Linked DNA regions of Homo sapiens: all the other regions are linked to region 1. Evidence: promoter capture Hi-C in 16 types of primary human blood cells and fetal thymus (Javierre and others, 2016). All regions are on one chromosome and are shown on one strand. The core of a region is centred on a gene start or on the middle of the fragment in contact, and the rest is flanking DNA. Distances in the headings are between cores, read along the strand shown. Region 1 holds the start of GOLT1A (golgi transport 1A). Region 2 overlaps PLEKHA6 (pleckstrin homology domain containing A6). Region 3 overlaps PLEKHA6 (pleckstrin homology domain containing A6). Region 4 overlaps PLEKHA6 (pleckstrin homology domain containing A6).

Region 1 (2,832 bases), core at 305-2,804:
CTTCTATATTATCTCCACCTTGTGCTCTCTAATTTGCCTTGCTATGTTATCCCTATTTCAATTAAGATGCTTTCCCTCTCATCATATGCAAGTACGTCTGGTCTGTTATTCCTTATCTAACAGTTTTTATTCTATGTTCACTTCCTGCTACTCTTTCATTTTCTTGCATGTGTGTGATTTTTGTTTTTGCATAGAATGGCTCATCTTCTATTTCTCTTAAATTCAAACATATATTATGTGTGGGTGCAAGCAATCTGCCTATTTCATTTATGTCTTCTGGTAAGTCTTGCCTGAACATTTATATATTGAAAGACATCATGTTTTATTATAATTTATCTTTTTGTTTCTTTTTAAAAAATTATGTTAGCTTTCCTTGGTTTTGTTGTTGTTGTTTGGTTTGTTTTTTTTTGAGACAGGATCTCGCTCTGCTACCCAGGCTGGAGTGCATGGCTTGATCACAGCTCATCGCAGCCTCGACCTTCTGGGCTCAAGCAATCCTCCTACCTTAGCCTCCCCAGTAGCTGGGACTACAGGCAGGTACCACCACATCCGGCTAATTTTTTATTTTTATTATTGTAGAGACAAGGTCTCACTATGTTGCTCAGGCTGGTCTCAAACTCCTGGGCTCAAGCAATCCTCCTGCCTTGGCCTCCCAAAATGCTGGGATTACAGACATAATGCATTTTGTATGCCAGGCCTATTTGCATTTTTAAATGATGTATATAGGTAGTCTTTGAAATTCATTTCTTCATTTCTGGACACAGAAGACATTGCAAAGTGGATGTTGGCTCTCCTGGCATCAATGCCACGTCAGAACCACTGCTCTGCGATGGGAAAAAAGGATGTTAGGAACTAACTGCCTCTCTTTTTGCAGGCCCAAAGGACGAATCCATGTCTACACAGCTGGTGGGTAGACTAGAACCAGGCCTCCTAAATTGTGCAGTCCTGCCCCAACCCCAAATTCAGGGCTTTGTCTTCCATAGCTCAACATCACAGTCAGTCCAAAGCTTGGACGCCGCTTGGGGAAAGGAGGTCGAAGACCTTCACGTCTAACTTCCCCCATGGCGCTTTTGCCATTGATTTAACCCGATCTGGCTCTGCCATTAGGTCAACAACAGGCTTTGTGCTCAGTCGCTCATCGCCTCCCAGCGCCTAGCATGTGCAATAGCAGAGAGCAAAAAGCTTGACTTTCAAGATGAATTTAGTACATTCCCAAAGGGATGCGCAGATGCCAACTCTTCCCACACTATCAAACCAAGCAAGAAACTTGAGCACCCCCTAGATTCCAATGCTTCCACATACAATCTAAGTTTCGCGGAGCAGACGAGAGCCGCAGAACACCGCGAGGTGCGAGGAAAGGGTCAGGTGGGCGGTGCCTTCCCCGGGCAGGCGCGGCAGGTGGAGGGGCGGGGCATTGCCCTACCGGAAAACGGGAGGAGGGAGCTGGCGAGTAGAAGCACCTGCGTGGTGTGCGGGGGTGGAGCGGGGGCTGGAGGGAGAGTTAATGATTTGCCACAGGCTCATTTCGCAACTTAACCAAGGGTCAGCTTCCCGTGACCATGTACCAGCTGCGTCCTCTGGGCCACGCTCCACTTGCCCGCTTCCACCCGGAAAGCCCCCCAGGCTGAGTGCGGCATGATCTCCATCACCGAATGGCAGAGTAAGTGGGATGAGCGGGGCTGCAATGGGCTATCCAGGCCAGGCTCCCTGCCGGCTGGCTCTCTCTCCCAGCTGGGCTCTCTGTCACTACAAGCGTGACCTCTGGAGCCAGGGGCTGGGAGATGCTGTGCTGGCACCCTGGGGCAGCAGGCAGGGTGGGGTGTGGCTCCCTACCCTCCAGCGGGTGGGAGTTGCTCAGGGCCCACAGGTAGCTAGAGGCTGGTGCCCAGGGGGCCTGGCAGGTTCCCCATTCACACTGACCCCTTTCCCATCCCGGGTTCTTAGAACTGGGTTGCCACAAAGGTGGACTCAGGAGGCCTCTGCCCATTCAGACATCTTTCCCCACACCATCAAGGTCTCCTGTGGCCCTGGGGGCTTCTTATAAAAAACTAAACTCCACTCCCCTGACCAAACCACCATACCCTCACTCCTAAACATCCTTCCCCTTCTTTTGGGGGAAGAGGTAGGGAGGAGGTCTTGGAACAAGTCTGGGGCCATGGGAAGAACCGTGGCTCTGTGGGCTTCATTTGGGTGAGTTACTTAAAGCCTCTGAGCCTTGGTTTTTCATCTGAGAATTGGTGACAACATTCTTTTGTTCACTCAACAGATTTGTCTCTGCTGTGTGCCAAGCACTGTGTTGGATATAGAGTGTCCAACATTAAATGAAACTGACTCCCTGCTTACATTCTAGAGAGGGGAGACAGGTAATTAACAGAAAGAAGTATATAGTATATCAGAAGATGATAAGTCCTCCAGATGAAAATAAAACAAGAGGAGGCTATGGAGTTCGAGGTAGGAGGGGTCGCTATTTTATATAGAGTGGTCAGGGAAGCCTCACTGAGAAGGTGAGCCTTTATTCAGATCTTTTTTCAGAGATCTATAGGAAGTGAGGAAGCAAAGCCACGCAGCTCTCTGGAGGGGAAATGTTCAGGAAGCAGGGACAGGCAGTGCAAAGGCCCTGAGGCATTAGCATACTTGGTGTGTTTGAAGAACAACAAGGAGGTGGGTATACCTGGAGCAAAGTGAGGTGAGGGGAGAATCATAGGAGTTTAGGTCAGGGATGTCACTGAGGGGTCAGGACACTGGAGACTTATAGACCATGGTAATGACCTTGGTTTTGTGCTATGGTGTGATATGTTCTATTTCTATGTTTAAAAGATCATTCTGGGTGCT
Region 2 (2,790 bases), core at 60-2,559, 100 kb before region 1:
CATTCTACAGGTGGGGAAAAGAGGCTGAGAGATGCTCAGTGATTTGGTCCAGGCTGGAGGAGACTGGAAGGTACCTCCAGATGTCCAGTTCTGGTTATTTCAGCTGCAGATGGCACGGTAGATTATGTGATTGGCCTTGGAGGTGTTTAAGGAGTGGATACGAGGAGGCCGCTTTATCTGTCTGGGGTTCATCATTTGGCTTCTCCGTTCTTCAGCCCTAGTTGCGCCTGGTAAAATACCAGTAGGGTGATTGAGTCCCACCCTGGGATATCCTAACGCAGATGCCAAAGGAAAGAGGAATGAGCTGACATCTTTATTGATTTCCCTAGTGGGGAATGGGTTCAAATAGGTAAGTTTGATACCTGTATTGAGCTCTCCAGTGGAGAATGGGCTTAAATTCCAGTTGGCCAGATAAAAGTTAAATCAAAGACTGGGAGGCCAGAAAAGATGGGAAACCGAGGGAAACTGTGACCTTTTAGAAGGACCTCCATCTCTCTGGAATGAGTTAGCCAAGTCACCGTGCCAATGAGTGGGGAGGCAGGGCAAACTCAGCTCCGGAGGCTCTGCCAGCTCTGGGTGGTGCTGAGTGAACCCTACCCCCACATATCCTGCAAAGGCACTGGGAACAAGGGGTTGGGTACCCCTGGACTCACCCATTGAAAGCATTTCTCCCGTGTCCCTATTCTGAGCGGCCTGCAGCTGTCTTTCCCGGCAGCTGTCTCCCTGAGCCTACTTGGGTTTCTTGTGGGCACAGGGAGTGCTCCAACACCCACTCTCCACATCCTGTATCGAGAAAGTCAGGTTCTTACCCAACCAGGGCCTCTCCTCCCCTTGTCAGTCCCGATGTTTCTTTTAATAGTTTAAAAAGTTAGAAAAATATTTTTCAGAGCTTTAGTTGCTCCTGAGAAATTCTAGCTTCCTCCCACTGGGAGTGAGCCTTCAAAGATCATTTATCCATTGATCAACGAGAAAATATTTATTGAGCGGGAGCCACCTCGCGCATTGCATTACATGCATCGTGGGACTCCACAGTCTGGCCCCCAAATACCCGTCCAGCTTCATTTAGTTATGAGGAATAAGCAAGCTTATAAATAGGAAGCATTCCCACAGTGTCCATAGTAAACACACAGTAAATGTTTATAGAATTATCGTTACTTCCCAACACGAACCTTTACCTAGTCCAGGTACCCCAGTAATCTCCCGTCTCCTTAATGTGACTCCCTCTAAAACGCCCAGCCTCCTCCTCTCATGCTGTCGTCTCCATGCTGTGGCCTCCCCTGGGCATCTCCCCGGCTCCCCACTCACGCTGCCCTCATCCCAGGCTGCCTGTCACGGGAGGATGGTTTTGTTGGTTTGCTTTTATCTGTATCCACTCTCTAGATTAGGGTTTCCTTGAAGGTGGGGACCACATCTCTGCTCAGTCTCTAGCACTGTCATGCTCAGGACATTTCTAGGGAATGACTGGCTAACATATGCCTACAACTTCACGGCGGAGGGGGTTTTCTGTGGGCTGGGGGTGTTTAACTGAAGCTTTCTGGAAGAGGTGGCATTTGAGCTCAGCCCTAACACGGTGTCCACCTGCCTTCCCCTGGGAGATTTGGATTTAACAGGCATCTGGGGGAGAGGGAAGGGGAATGACGCTGCCAGAGCAGGAATGCCTAAGGCCTTTCGGGGAAATGTTGCAAAGTTCAGTCAGGTTGAACTAGAAAACTTACACATGGAGCCATAGAATATGACGTTTGAAAGATGAGTGGGGACGTGCCGCAGTGGGCCTTGGATGCCAAACCGTGGAGGTGGACCCTTATGTAGCAGGCAGGGGAGGGGTAACCACTGAGGATTTCTGAGCAAGAGAGTCACATGATGAAACAGGTATTGAGCCATAGCCAGTGGAGGGGAAATTGGCTTTAATTTTAAAGGCCAAGGACAGAGTCCTAAATGTCCTCTTATCACCCATTTCAAGTGATTCTTACTATCTAACCTAAACCATTCCTGCTGTAATCAAAGTCCAGTTTGTCTCACAGGAACTGGAAAACAGCTGGACAGGGCTGTCATTCTCCCATTTCTGCCAGAGTGAACCCACATATCTTGGTGTGGTGCAGGAGTGTGTGCCAGCGTTCCGAGCCAAGCTGGCAGAGCTCTGGATCACATGAGGGCACCGAGGCCTACATTGATACCTCTAGGGGTTGGATTTGGAGTCACTGAAGCCCCTGTGGAATTAGAAGACCTAGATCCATCCCTGAGTACTATTCCCTACTCCCCAAATACCAGCATACATGCTGTCCCTGTGAAAAGCTTGTGGGCATCCATACCAGCATCTCTACCGCCCCTGCGCCATTGTGGAGGTAAGAGATGAAGTGGATAAAGGTCTCTGAGGCAGGGAGATAAGGGCCTAGAAGAAAGACAAGCTTGACTCAGGGAAGGGCACAGGAGAAGAAGTTAAGGAGGATTCTGCTATTTCTCGCCCCAGCTTGGTTGGGATACTCATCTGACACCTGAGAGTGAGGTCCGCCAGGAGCTACAGAGGCAGCAGGTGTCTGTCTATTCCCCTCCAGTCTCCTTGGTTAGACCATCCCCAGGCCAGGGGGAGTGGTGGCCAGTTAGGATCAGTCTTGTCGTTCCAGGATCCTTCTCTGCACTTACTGTTGGCCCAGTCACTCCATTGTCGTCTGCAGGAGTATTAGATGAAATTCCAGAGACTTCAGTCTCTAAAGAAGAAAGCTTTTCTAGAACAGGGAATTTATTTCTCTCCCCGGGCTCACAGGGGAAGTGGAACATTCCATTTGAAGGGTG
Region 3 (3,044 bases), core at 423-2,922, 80 kb before region 1:
ACCCACCTTGGCCTCCCAAAGTGCTGGGATTATGGGCATGAGCCAATGCGCCTGGCCTAGAACTGGGTCTTCTTAGTCAATTATTTCTGTCCAGTAATGTTGACCCTTAGAATGGACTGCTTTCAACCATGACACACACACAAAAGCCCACCTCCCAGTTCAAATTACACTAGGAACAGACCTCCCTCACATTTGAGATTCTCAGGTGTTAATTGTTCTGGCTCCTAAGTACAGGGGAGAGGGTACTATCTTGATGGATAACTTCTTTAGGAACAAATTATTAAGCATCCATCTGTAGGTGTCAAAGTGGTGAGGGGTTTTATAATCAAAATTGAGCCACTGTCTCCTAAGGATAAATAGCCCAAGGCAGATGCAGACAGATAATAATGATTATTAGCATTTATTGAACATTTACTAAGTGCCAGAACCTTTCATAAATTTTTTGTGGGTATAATCTTATTTACTCCTGTGACGAACCCATGAAGAAGGTCCGTATATTATCCCGTTTTCACAGATGGGGGAATGAAAGCACAGAGAGGTTAAGTTTCTCACCCAGAGTCCCTTAGGTAGTAACTGGTGGAGCCGGGATTGGAACTGGGGCAGTCTGACTCCAGAGCCAAAAATCTCAAGGCTAATGCGGATTCAACTCAATAAAAATAAACGAAAGGATTAGCTGGTAGGATGATGCATGAGAAGGGAATTTCAAGTTGCACAACTAACATAAAGTGGGAAGAAAGCTGGCTTTGGGCTGTGTCCTGGGCTCTAATCCCAGTTCTCTCACTTCCTAACTGTGTAGCCTTGGGCTAATAACCTGACCTCTCAGGTTCTTCCTCCGCAACAGCAGGACAGCAATACCTATCTCTGGGGGTTAAGCAGAGAATTCGCTAGCATCATGACTTGGATAGGTGTTAATTTCCTTTTTCTTTCTGTGCTAGTTGTCAAGTTTTCCTGGGAGGGTGAAGGGTAATTTGGGAATTCAAGGTTAATTCTTATTTCAAGAAGAAATGTCCAACCAGCCCTCCAGTACCCTATCTTCTGGACAAGATTTTCTGCCATCACCACTTCCTCCGTATCCTCCTGGGATGGCCTGGAATTGGAGGAGAGACAGGCTGGAGAGAGAGAAGGGTGTTTGGCTTAATGCAGCTGTCAAGCAGCTGTCACGCTCTGGCCACTCTTTCTTCATCTTCTCTTTTTCCTTTTAAAAACAAGGACATTCTCTTGCATAACCACAGTACAATTAACAGACTCAGGAAACTTAATAACATCGATACAATTCTATTATCTAATATACAGTCCATATTGAAATTTCACCAGTTGTCCTAATAATGTCATTAGAATCCAATTCAGGATCATGTCTCTTTCCTCTCAGTCTGGAAAGTCCCTCAGCCTTTCTCCATGTTCATGCATTGAAGTTTTCTTAAAGAGCACAGGATCCTCTCTGGGACTTCCTGAGCCTTGTCCCGTCTTTCCTCATCCCTGAGCAGGGCTGACTAGAGTAAGGCGATTAATACACTCCCCTTAGGTACAAAATGTCTTACATTTTGCCAAATGGGTGCCAAAAAACTCGGTAGTCAAGATAAATAACATTTCAATGCAATAATTTTAAAATCAAAATCAATGCAAACATTTCATGAAGAACAAAATAGTAACATTCGAAATAAAGACAGGATCTAAAACAGTGCCACTTTAAGCCAAATTGGAGGCTGAGGCAAAAGGGAAATTCCAGTGATACTGGTCCTGTCTTTATTTGAAATGTTGGTATTTCATTCATCATGGGTTTTTAATGTTAATTTTTATTTCAAAAATATCGCGTTAAAATAAGTCTTGATTGGCCGGGTGCAGTGGCTCATGCTTGTAATCCCAGCACTTTGGGAGGCCAAGGCGGGCGGATCACCTGAGGCCAGGAGTTCGAGATCAGCCTGGCCAGCATGGTGAAACCGTATCTCTACTGAAAATACAAAAATTAACTGGGTGTGGTGGCACATGCCTGTAGTCCCAGCTACTTGGGAGGCTGAGGCAGGATAATCGCTTGAACTTGGGAGGCAGAGGTTGCAATGAGCCAAGATCGCGCCACTGCACTGCAGCCTGGGTGACAGAGCAAGACTCCATCTCAAAGAAAAAAAAAAAGTCTGATTACTGAGTTTTTGGATGCCCCTTAAACTTTGTGCTCCCTCCCCCACTCCCACAGTGTGGGCTTGCTCCCTCTCCCAGTCATCCCACCCTCAGAACAAGTTGGGGGAGAGAGGTGGGGCTCCATGCCAGGAGGAGGAAGGTTAGGGTACAGAGAAGAGGCGGGAGGGGAGGGGTACAGAGGCCTGGAACGCAGCCGTGTGTCTGGCCGGGAGCTCTCTAACACTAACAGCTTCCAGCTGCTTCCACAACCTCCAGACTTCCGCCTTGGGAGTGGCATTTGGTTGTTTTTTATTCCCCCTCTTCACATCAAATGTGTGATCTAATTAGACTTTGCATCCCTCATTTCTATCAGTCTTCCCTGTCTTGCAGTGCTCCCCTTAGTTGACCTGTCCTGACCCTGTTTCCATCCATCCCAGGAGCCTCTCAGGTGCTGCCACTGGCATGCTCCAGGAGCATCCACCCAGTGCTGGGTGAGCACCACAAAGACCAAGCCAGGGCAAGAGACACAGGTAGGCGTCAGCCAGGGTGAGGGAAATGGGGGGCATCAGCCAGGGCGAGGGACACAGGTGGGCATCAGCCAGGGTGAGGGACATAGGTGGGCGTCAGCCAGGGTGAGGGACACAGGTGGGTATCAGCCAGGGTGAGGGACATAGTGCCCGGGTGAGGGACATAGGTGGGCATCAGCCAGGTCGGGGCAGCTCCTTGTGGCCCTGAGGAAAGAGCTTCGGACTGAGGTTAACAGACCCCGAGGTTAGCCTTGCCTCAGGTATATGAGGTGGGTTATCTCAGCCAACACTTCCAGCTTCAGGGATTTTGTTTTGTAAAATGAGGGTGGTACTAACACTTTTCTGCCCACCTCATAAGACCATAAAAGAACCAAATGAGATAATGATGACAGTGCTTTGTGAACC
Region 4 (3,000 bases), core at 493-2,992, 120 kb before region 1:
AGCAGCCGCCTCTCAGACAGCCGTTAATTGCAGGCACGAGAGAGACAATAATTACGGGATAATGGGTGGCTTTTGTGTGAGTCCTTCTCTTTGCACTGTGTCAGCAAACACAGAGGGTTTGTTTTCTAACATTCAGCTACCCTGCTGGGGAATAACACACCCCCCTCCCACTCACTCCATCCCTGTCATCCAGTCCACCCTTCCCTTTCCCTGTCCTGGGTGACAGAACATGTTCCAATTTTCCAAAATATTGTCTCCTTCCAATTCTCATGCGGTCATGACCCCATTTTTTTGATTTGTGAGGTCTAACTTGTACTTTTAAAAAAGTAATGCTTAATTAACTTTGCCTAAAAATGGGTAAGCAAATGTTAAAGGATATGCCTATTCCATGTGCCTCCTGATCTTTGTTAATATAGTTTATATAGTTGTAATTAGTTTATACAGTTAATATAGTTTATATAGTTGTAATCCTGTGTTTATATAGTTGTAATTGATGTGTAGCTAGTGTCTTGTGTCATGAATTTCTTTTTTGTTTAATATTATTTTATACAAACACTCCCAGGTATGATAATGATCTATAAATTTGTCATTTTAAATAGCTATAAGTAATTCTGTCATGTTGCTCCATTACTGGATTGCTTTTCTCTTATTACTGAGAATTTGGGTTGTTTCCAATTTGTTGCTATTATGAATAGCTCTGCTATAAATGTCTTTACATGTACTGATTTTCCCCCTAGTTATTTCCCTGGGGGTTCATTGAATTATGAAGTTATATTGATCTGGGATCCTGTTGGGAAGAATGGAGGGGCTTGGGGAGCTGGAGGCTACTGGGAAAGTTTAACTGATTCCCTCCTCTCCCTCTCCCAGCACACAATTCCTCTTCTTCTCACCTCTTTTCACATCCATTTTGAGTATGATCCTTGCCCCAATTTCCCTAGTAACAGCCCAGGTTGGTGAGATGGAGACTTAGTGTTCCGGTTATGTATTGCCGCATAGCAGGCCACCCAAAATGTAGTGGCTGAGAACAAGGGCTGATGCCTGTCTCTCAGGGTTCTCTAGGTTGACTGGGCTCGGGGAGGGGTAGCCCTTGCTTGGGTCATTTCCGGCCGTGGCCATCCTCTGAAGGCTCGACTGGCTGGGCTGCCAGGGAGGCTCCTCACATGTCTGGCAAAGGATGCCAGCTGTCATCGGGGAGCTCAGCGGGGCCTGTCAACCTGAGCACCACAAGTGGCCTCTCCACGTGGCTTGGACTTCCCTCAGTGAGGCGGTTGGTTCTAAGACAGAATGTCTCAAGAGAGCGTTCCAGGAGACCCAAGTGGAAACTGCAAGACTTCTTATGCCCTAGCCTCAGGAGTCACACAGAGTCATGTCCGTTACATGCTGCTGGTCCAACTGAGCCTGCCCGGATGCACGGGGTGGGGAATTGACTCCACTTCCCAATGGGAGGGAACAGCAAAGAATCTGCAGACCTTTTTGGTCTTCCACTCTTGAAGACTGAAAGCATGTATTGGTTAGTAGCCTATGCATCCTACCGGGGTCTGCCTTAGGAGAGGCCATGCGAGAGTCCCTCTCCCCATCCCCTTCATTTCCACAGAAGCAGTCTGCTCCTGTCTTACTTCCATTTACCAAAATCCTGCCCGTTTTCAGAAGTCATCTGATCTCTCAGCCTTCCCTGGTTGCCCACAGGAGCCACAAGTCTCCCTGTCTTTATCTGCCTTTGTCTCACATGGCTCTTCTCACAGTTGTTTATGGGCTTGGCTTGCTAGGTTGTAAACTCTTGGAAGGCAAAGACTCTGTCATGTTCTTCTTGTTAATCTCAACACCCCACCCTAAAGACCTAGTAAAGTTCCTGGCATAGAAAAGGGCTTCCATAAATTCCATCTGCTTTCCCCTTTTTCACACATTTGAGACTGCACTTCCTGTTGAACTAATGAGTTCTTATGAACTAATGACCTTAATGGAGCGGGGGATGGTGGGAAGAGAACAAGCACTTGCCACACACTTTGTATGTGCATTTAACAGAGCAGGCTAGGAGCTTTACATATATTCTTTCACATATGTAAAAGAATTCTTTTACATTCTTTTACATATGTGGCAGCCACTGGGAAGGGACTTCCTTGGTAGAGCTGGAAAGTAAGTAGCAGCATTCCTATTTTATAGAGGATGGAGTTGAGGTTTGGAAATGTTAGGTAACATGTGCACAGTGACATAGTTGGGTCACCTAGTTAGAAAGTCGTGGAGCCATAATTCAAATCTAGGTCTTCGGGAATTTAAGGCACACATTCCCTTCTGTAGGCTTAACCTCTTGGAACCTCAGTTTCCTCATCTGTAAATGGAGAGAAGAATACTTCATAGGGTTGTTTGGATGAAAAGAAATAAGACTGTAAGCCATCCAGGGCTGCACTTGGCATCAAGTGGGCATTCATTCCCTATTGCCTGTCATGCCATGGCTTCTTGTTCTCAAGGCTTTGACAAGCACTTTACCCACCTGGCATGCTTTATGGCTGGCAACGCAGTTGACGGGTTTGCCCTCCTCATCTTTGGGTGTGTGCGTTGTTCACCAGCATACATATGACTATTGTGGTACGTGCCTCCCAATTGCTCCTCCCCTTCCACTGGAGCACAAGTGAGTCATTTTCCCTGGATTCCCCCCCCAAGTGAGAGACCGCCATCTTCTTTCTAACACAGTGCAGACAGCCAGGTCTCCAGTCACCCCGGAGGCTTCTCCTAGAGCAGCTGAGGTGAGGGATTCCACCCTTCCACATTAATTGCTTTTGTTTGCTCCTTTAAAATTAATTCCAACGAGAGCTCATTAATTCTTTCTTTTTCCTCATCTCATGCTCACTTGTTGTCTTCACTACTCAGTTCTGTTTTCCATTTTTTGGTCTTGCTCTGTCTCAGAGCATGTAGGAGCCCCATTCAGAATGATTCTGCAATGGTGACATCTCGCCGGGTGAGTTAGGATGTAGGCTAGTAAGAAGGTAGCAGCTACTGGGAAGG

What was found. Contacts are between HindIII fragments. The CHiCAGO score rates a contact against its expected background, and 5 or more counts as called.
Region 2: a fragment that was not itself captured here is called in contact with the fragment with the promoter of GOLT1A in region 1 in 1 of 17 cell types (megakaryocytes); the score reaches 5.3 in megakaryocytes.
Region 3: a contact is called between a fragment that was not itself captured here and the fragment with the promoter of GOLT1A in region 1, in 1 of 17 cell types (megakaryocytes). The highest score is 5.5, in megakaryocytes.
Region 4: a fragment that was not itself captured here is called in contact with the fragment with the promoter of GOLT1A in region 1 in 1 of 17 cell types (megakaryocytes); the score reaches 6.3 in megakaryocytes.

Annotation. Positions count from the first base shown.
Region 1 is chr1:204,212,710-204,215,541 of GRCh38, reverse strand. GOLT1A (golgi transport 1A) reads left to right here and starts at 1,554. Exons shown (of 5, transcript NM_198447.2): 1 at 1,554-1,660. The coding sequence starts at 1,636. RefSeq lists an enhancer at 1,027-1,683. The HindIII fragment of the contact is 7,307 bases long and covers 1,185-2,832 here.
Region 2 is chr1:204,314,307-204,317,096 of GRCh38, reverse strand. The region is part of intron 1 of PLEKHA6 (pleckstrin homology domain containing A6); the gene reads left to right. Among named protein-coding and RNA genes, the nearest start is that of PLEKHA6, 44 kb to the left of the region's middle. The HindIII fragment of the contact is 446 bases long and covers 1,087-1,532 here.
Region 3 is chr1:204,292,221-204,295,264 of GRCh38, reverse strand. The region is part of intron 1 of PLEKHA6 (pleckstrin homology domain containing A6); the gene reads left to right. Among named protein-coding and RNA genes, the nearest start is that of PLEKHA6, 66 kb to the left of the region's middle. The HindIII fragment of the contact is 6,726 bases long and covers 1-3,044 here.
Region 4 is chr1:204,337,372-204,340,371 of GRCh38, reverse strand. The region is part of intron 1 of PLEKHA6 (pleckstrin homology domain containing A6); the gene reads left to right. Among named protein-coding and RNA genes, the nearest start is that of PLEKHA6, 21 kb to the left of the region's middle. RefSeq lists an enhancer at 1,478-2,261. The HindIII fragment of the contact is 9,408 bases long and covers 1-3,000 here.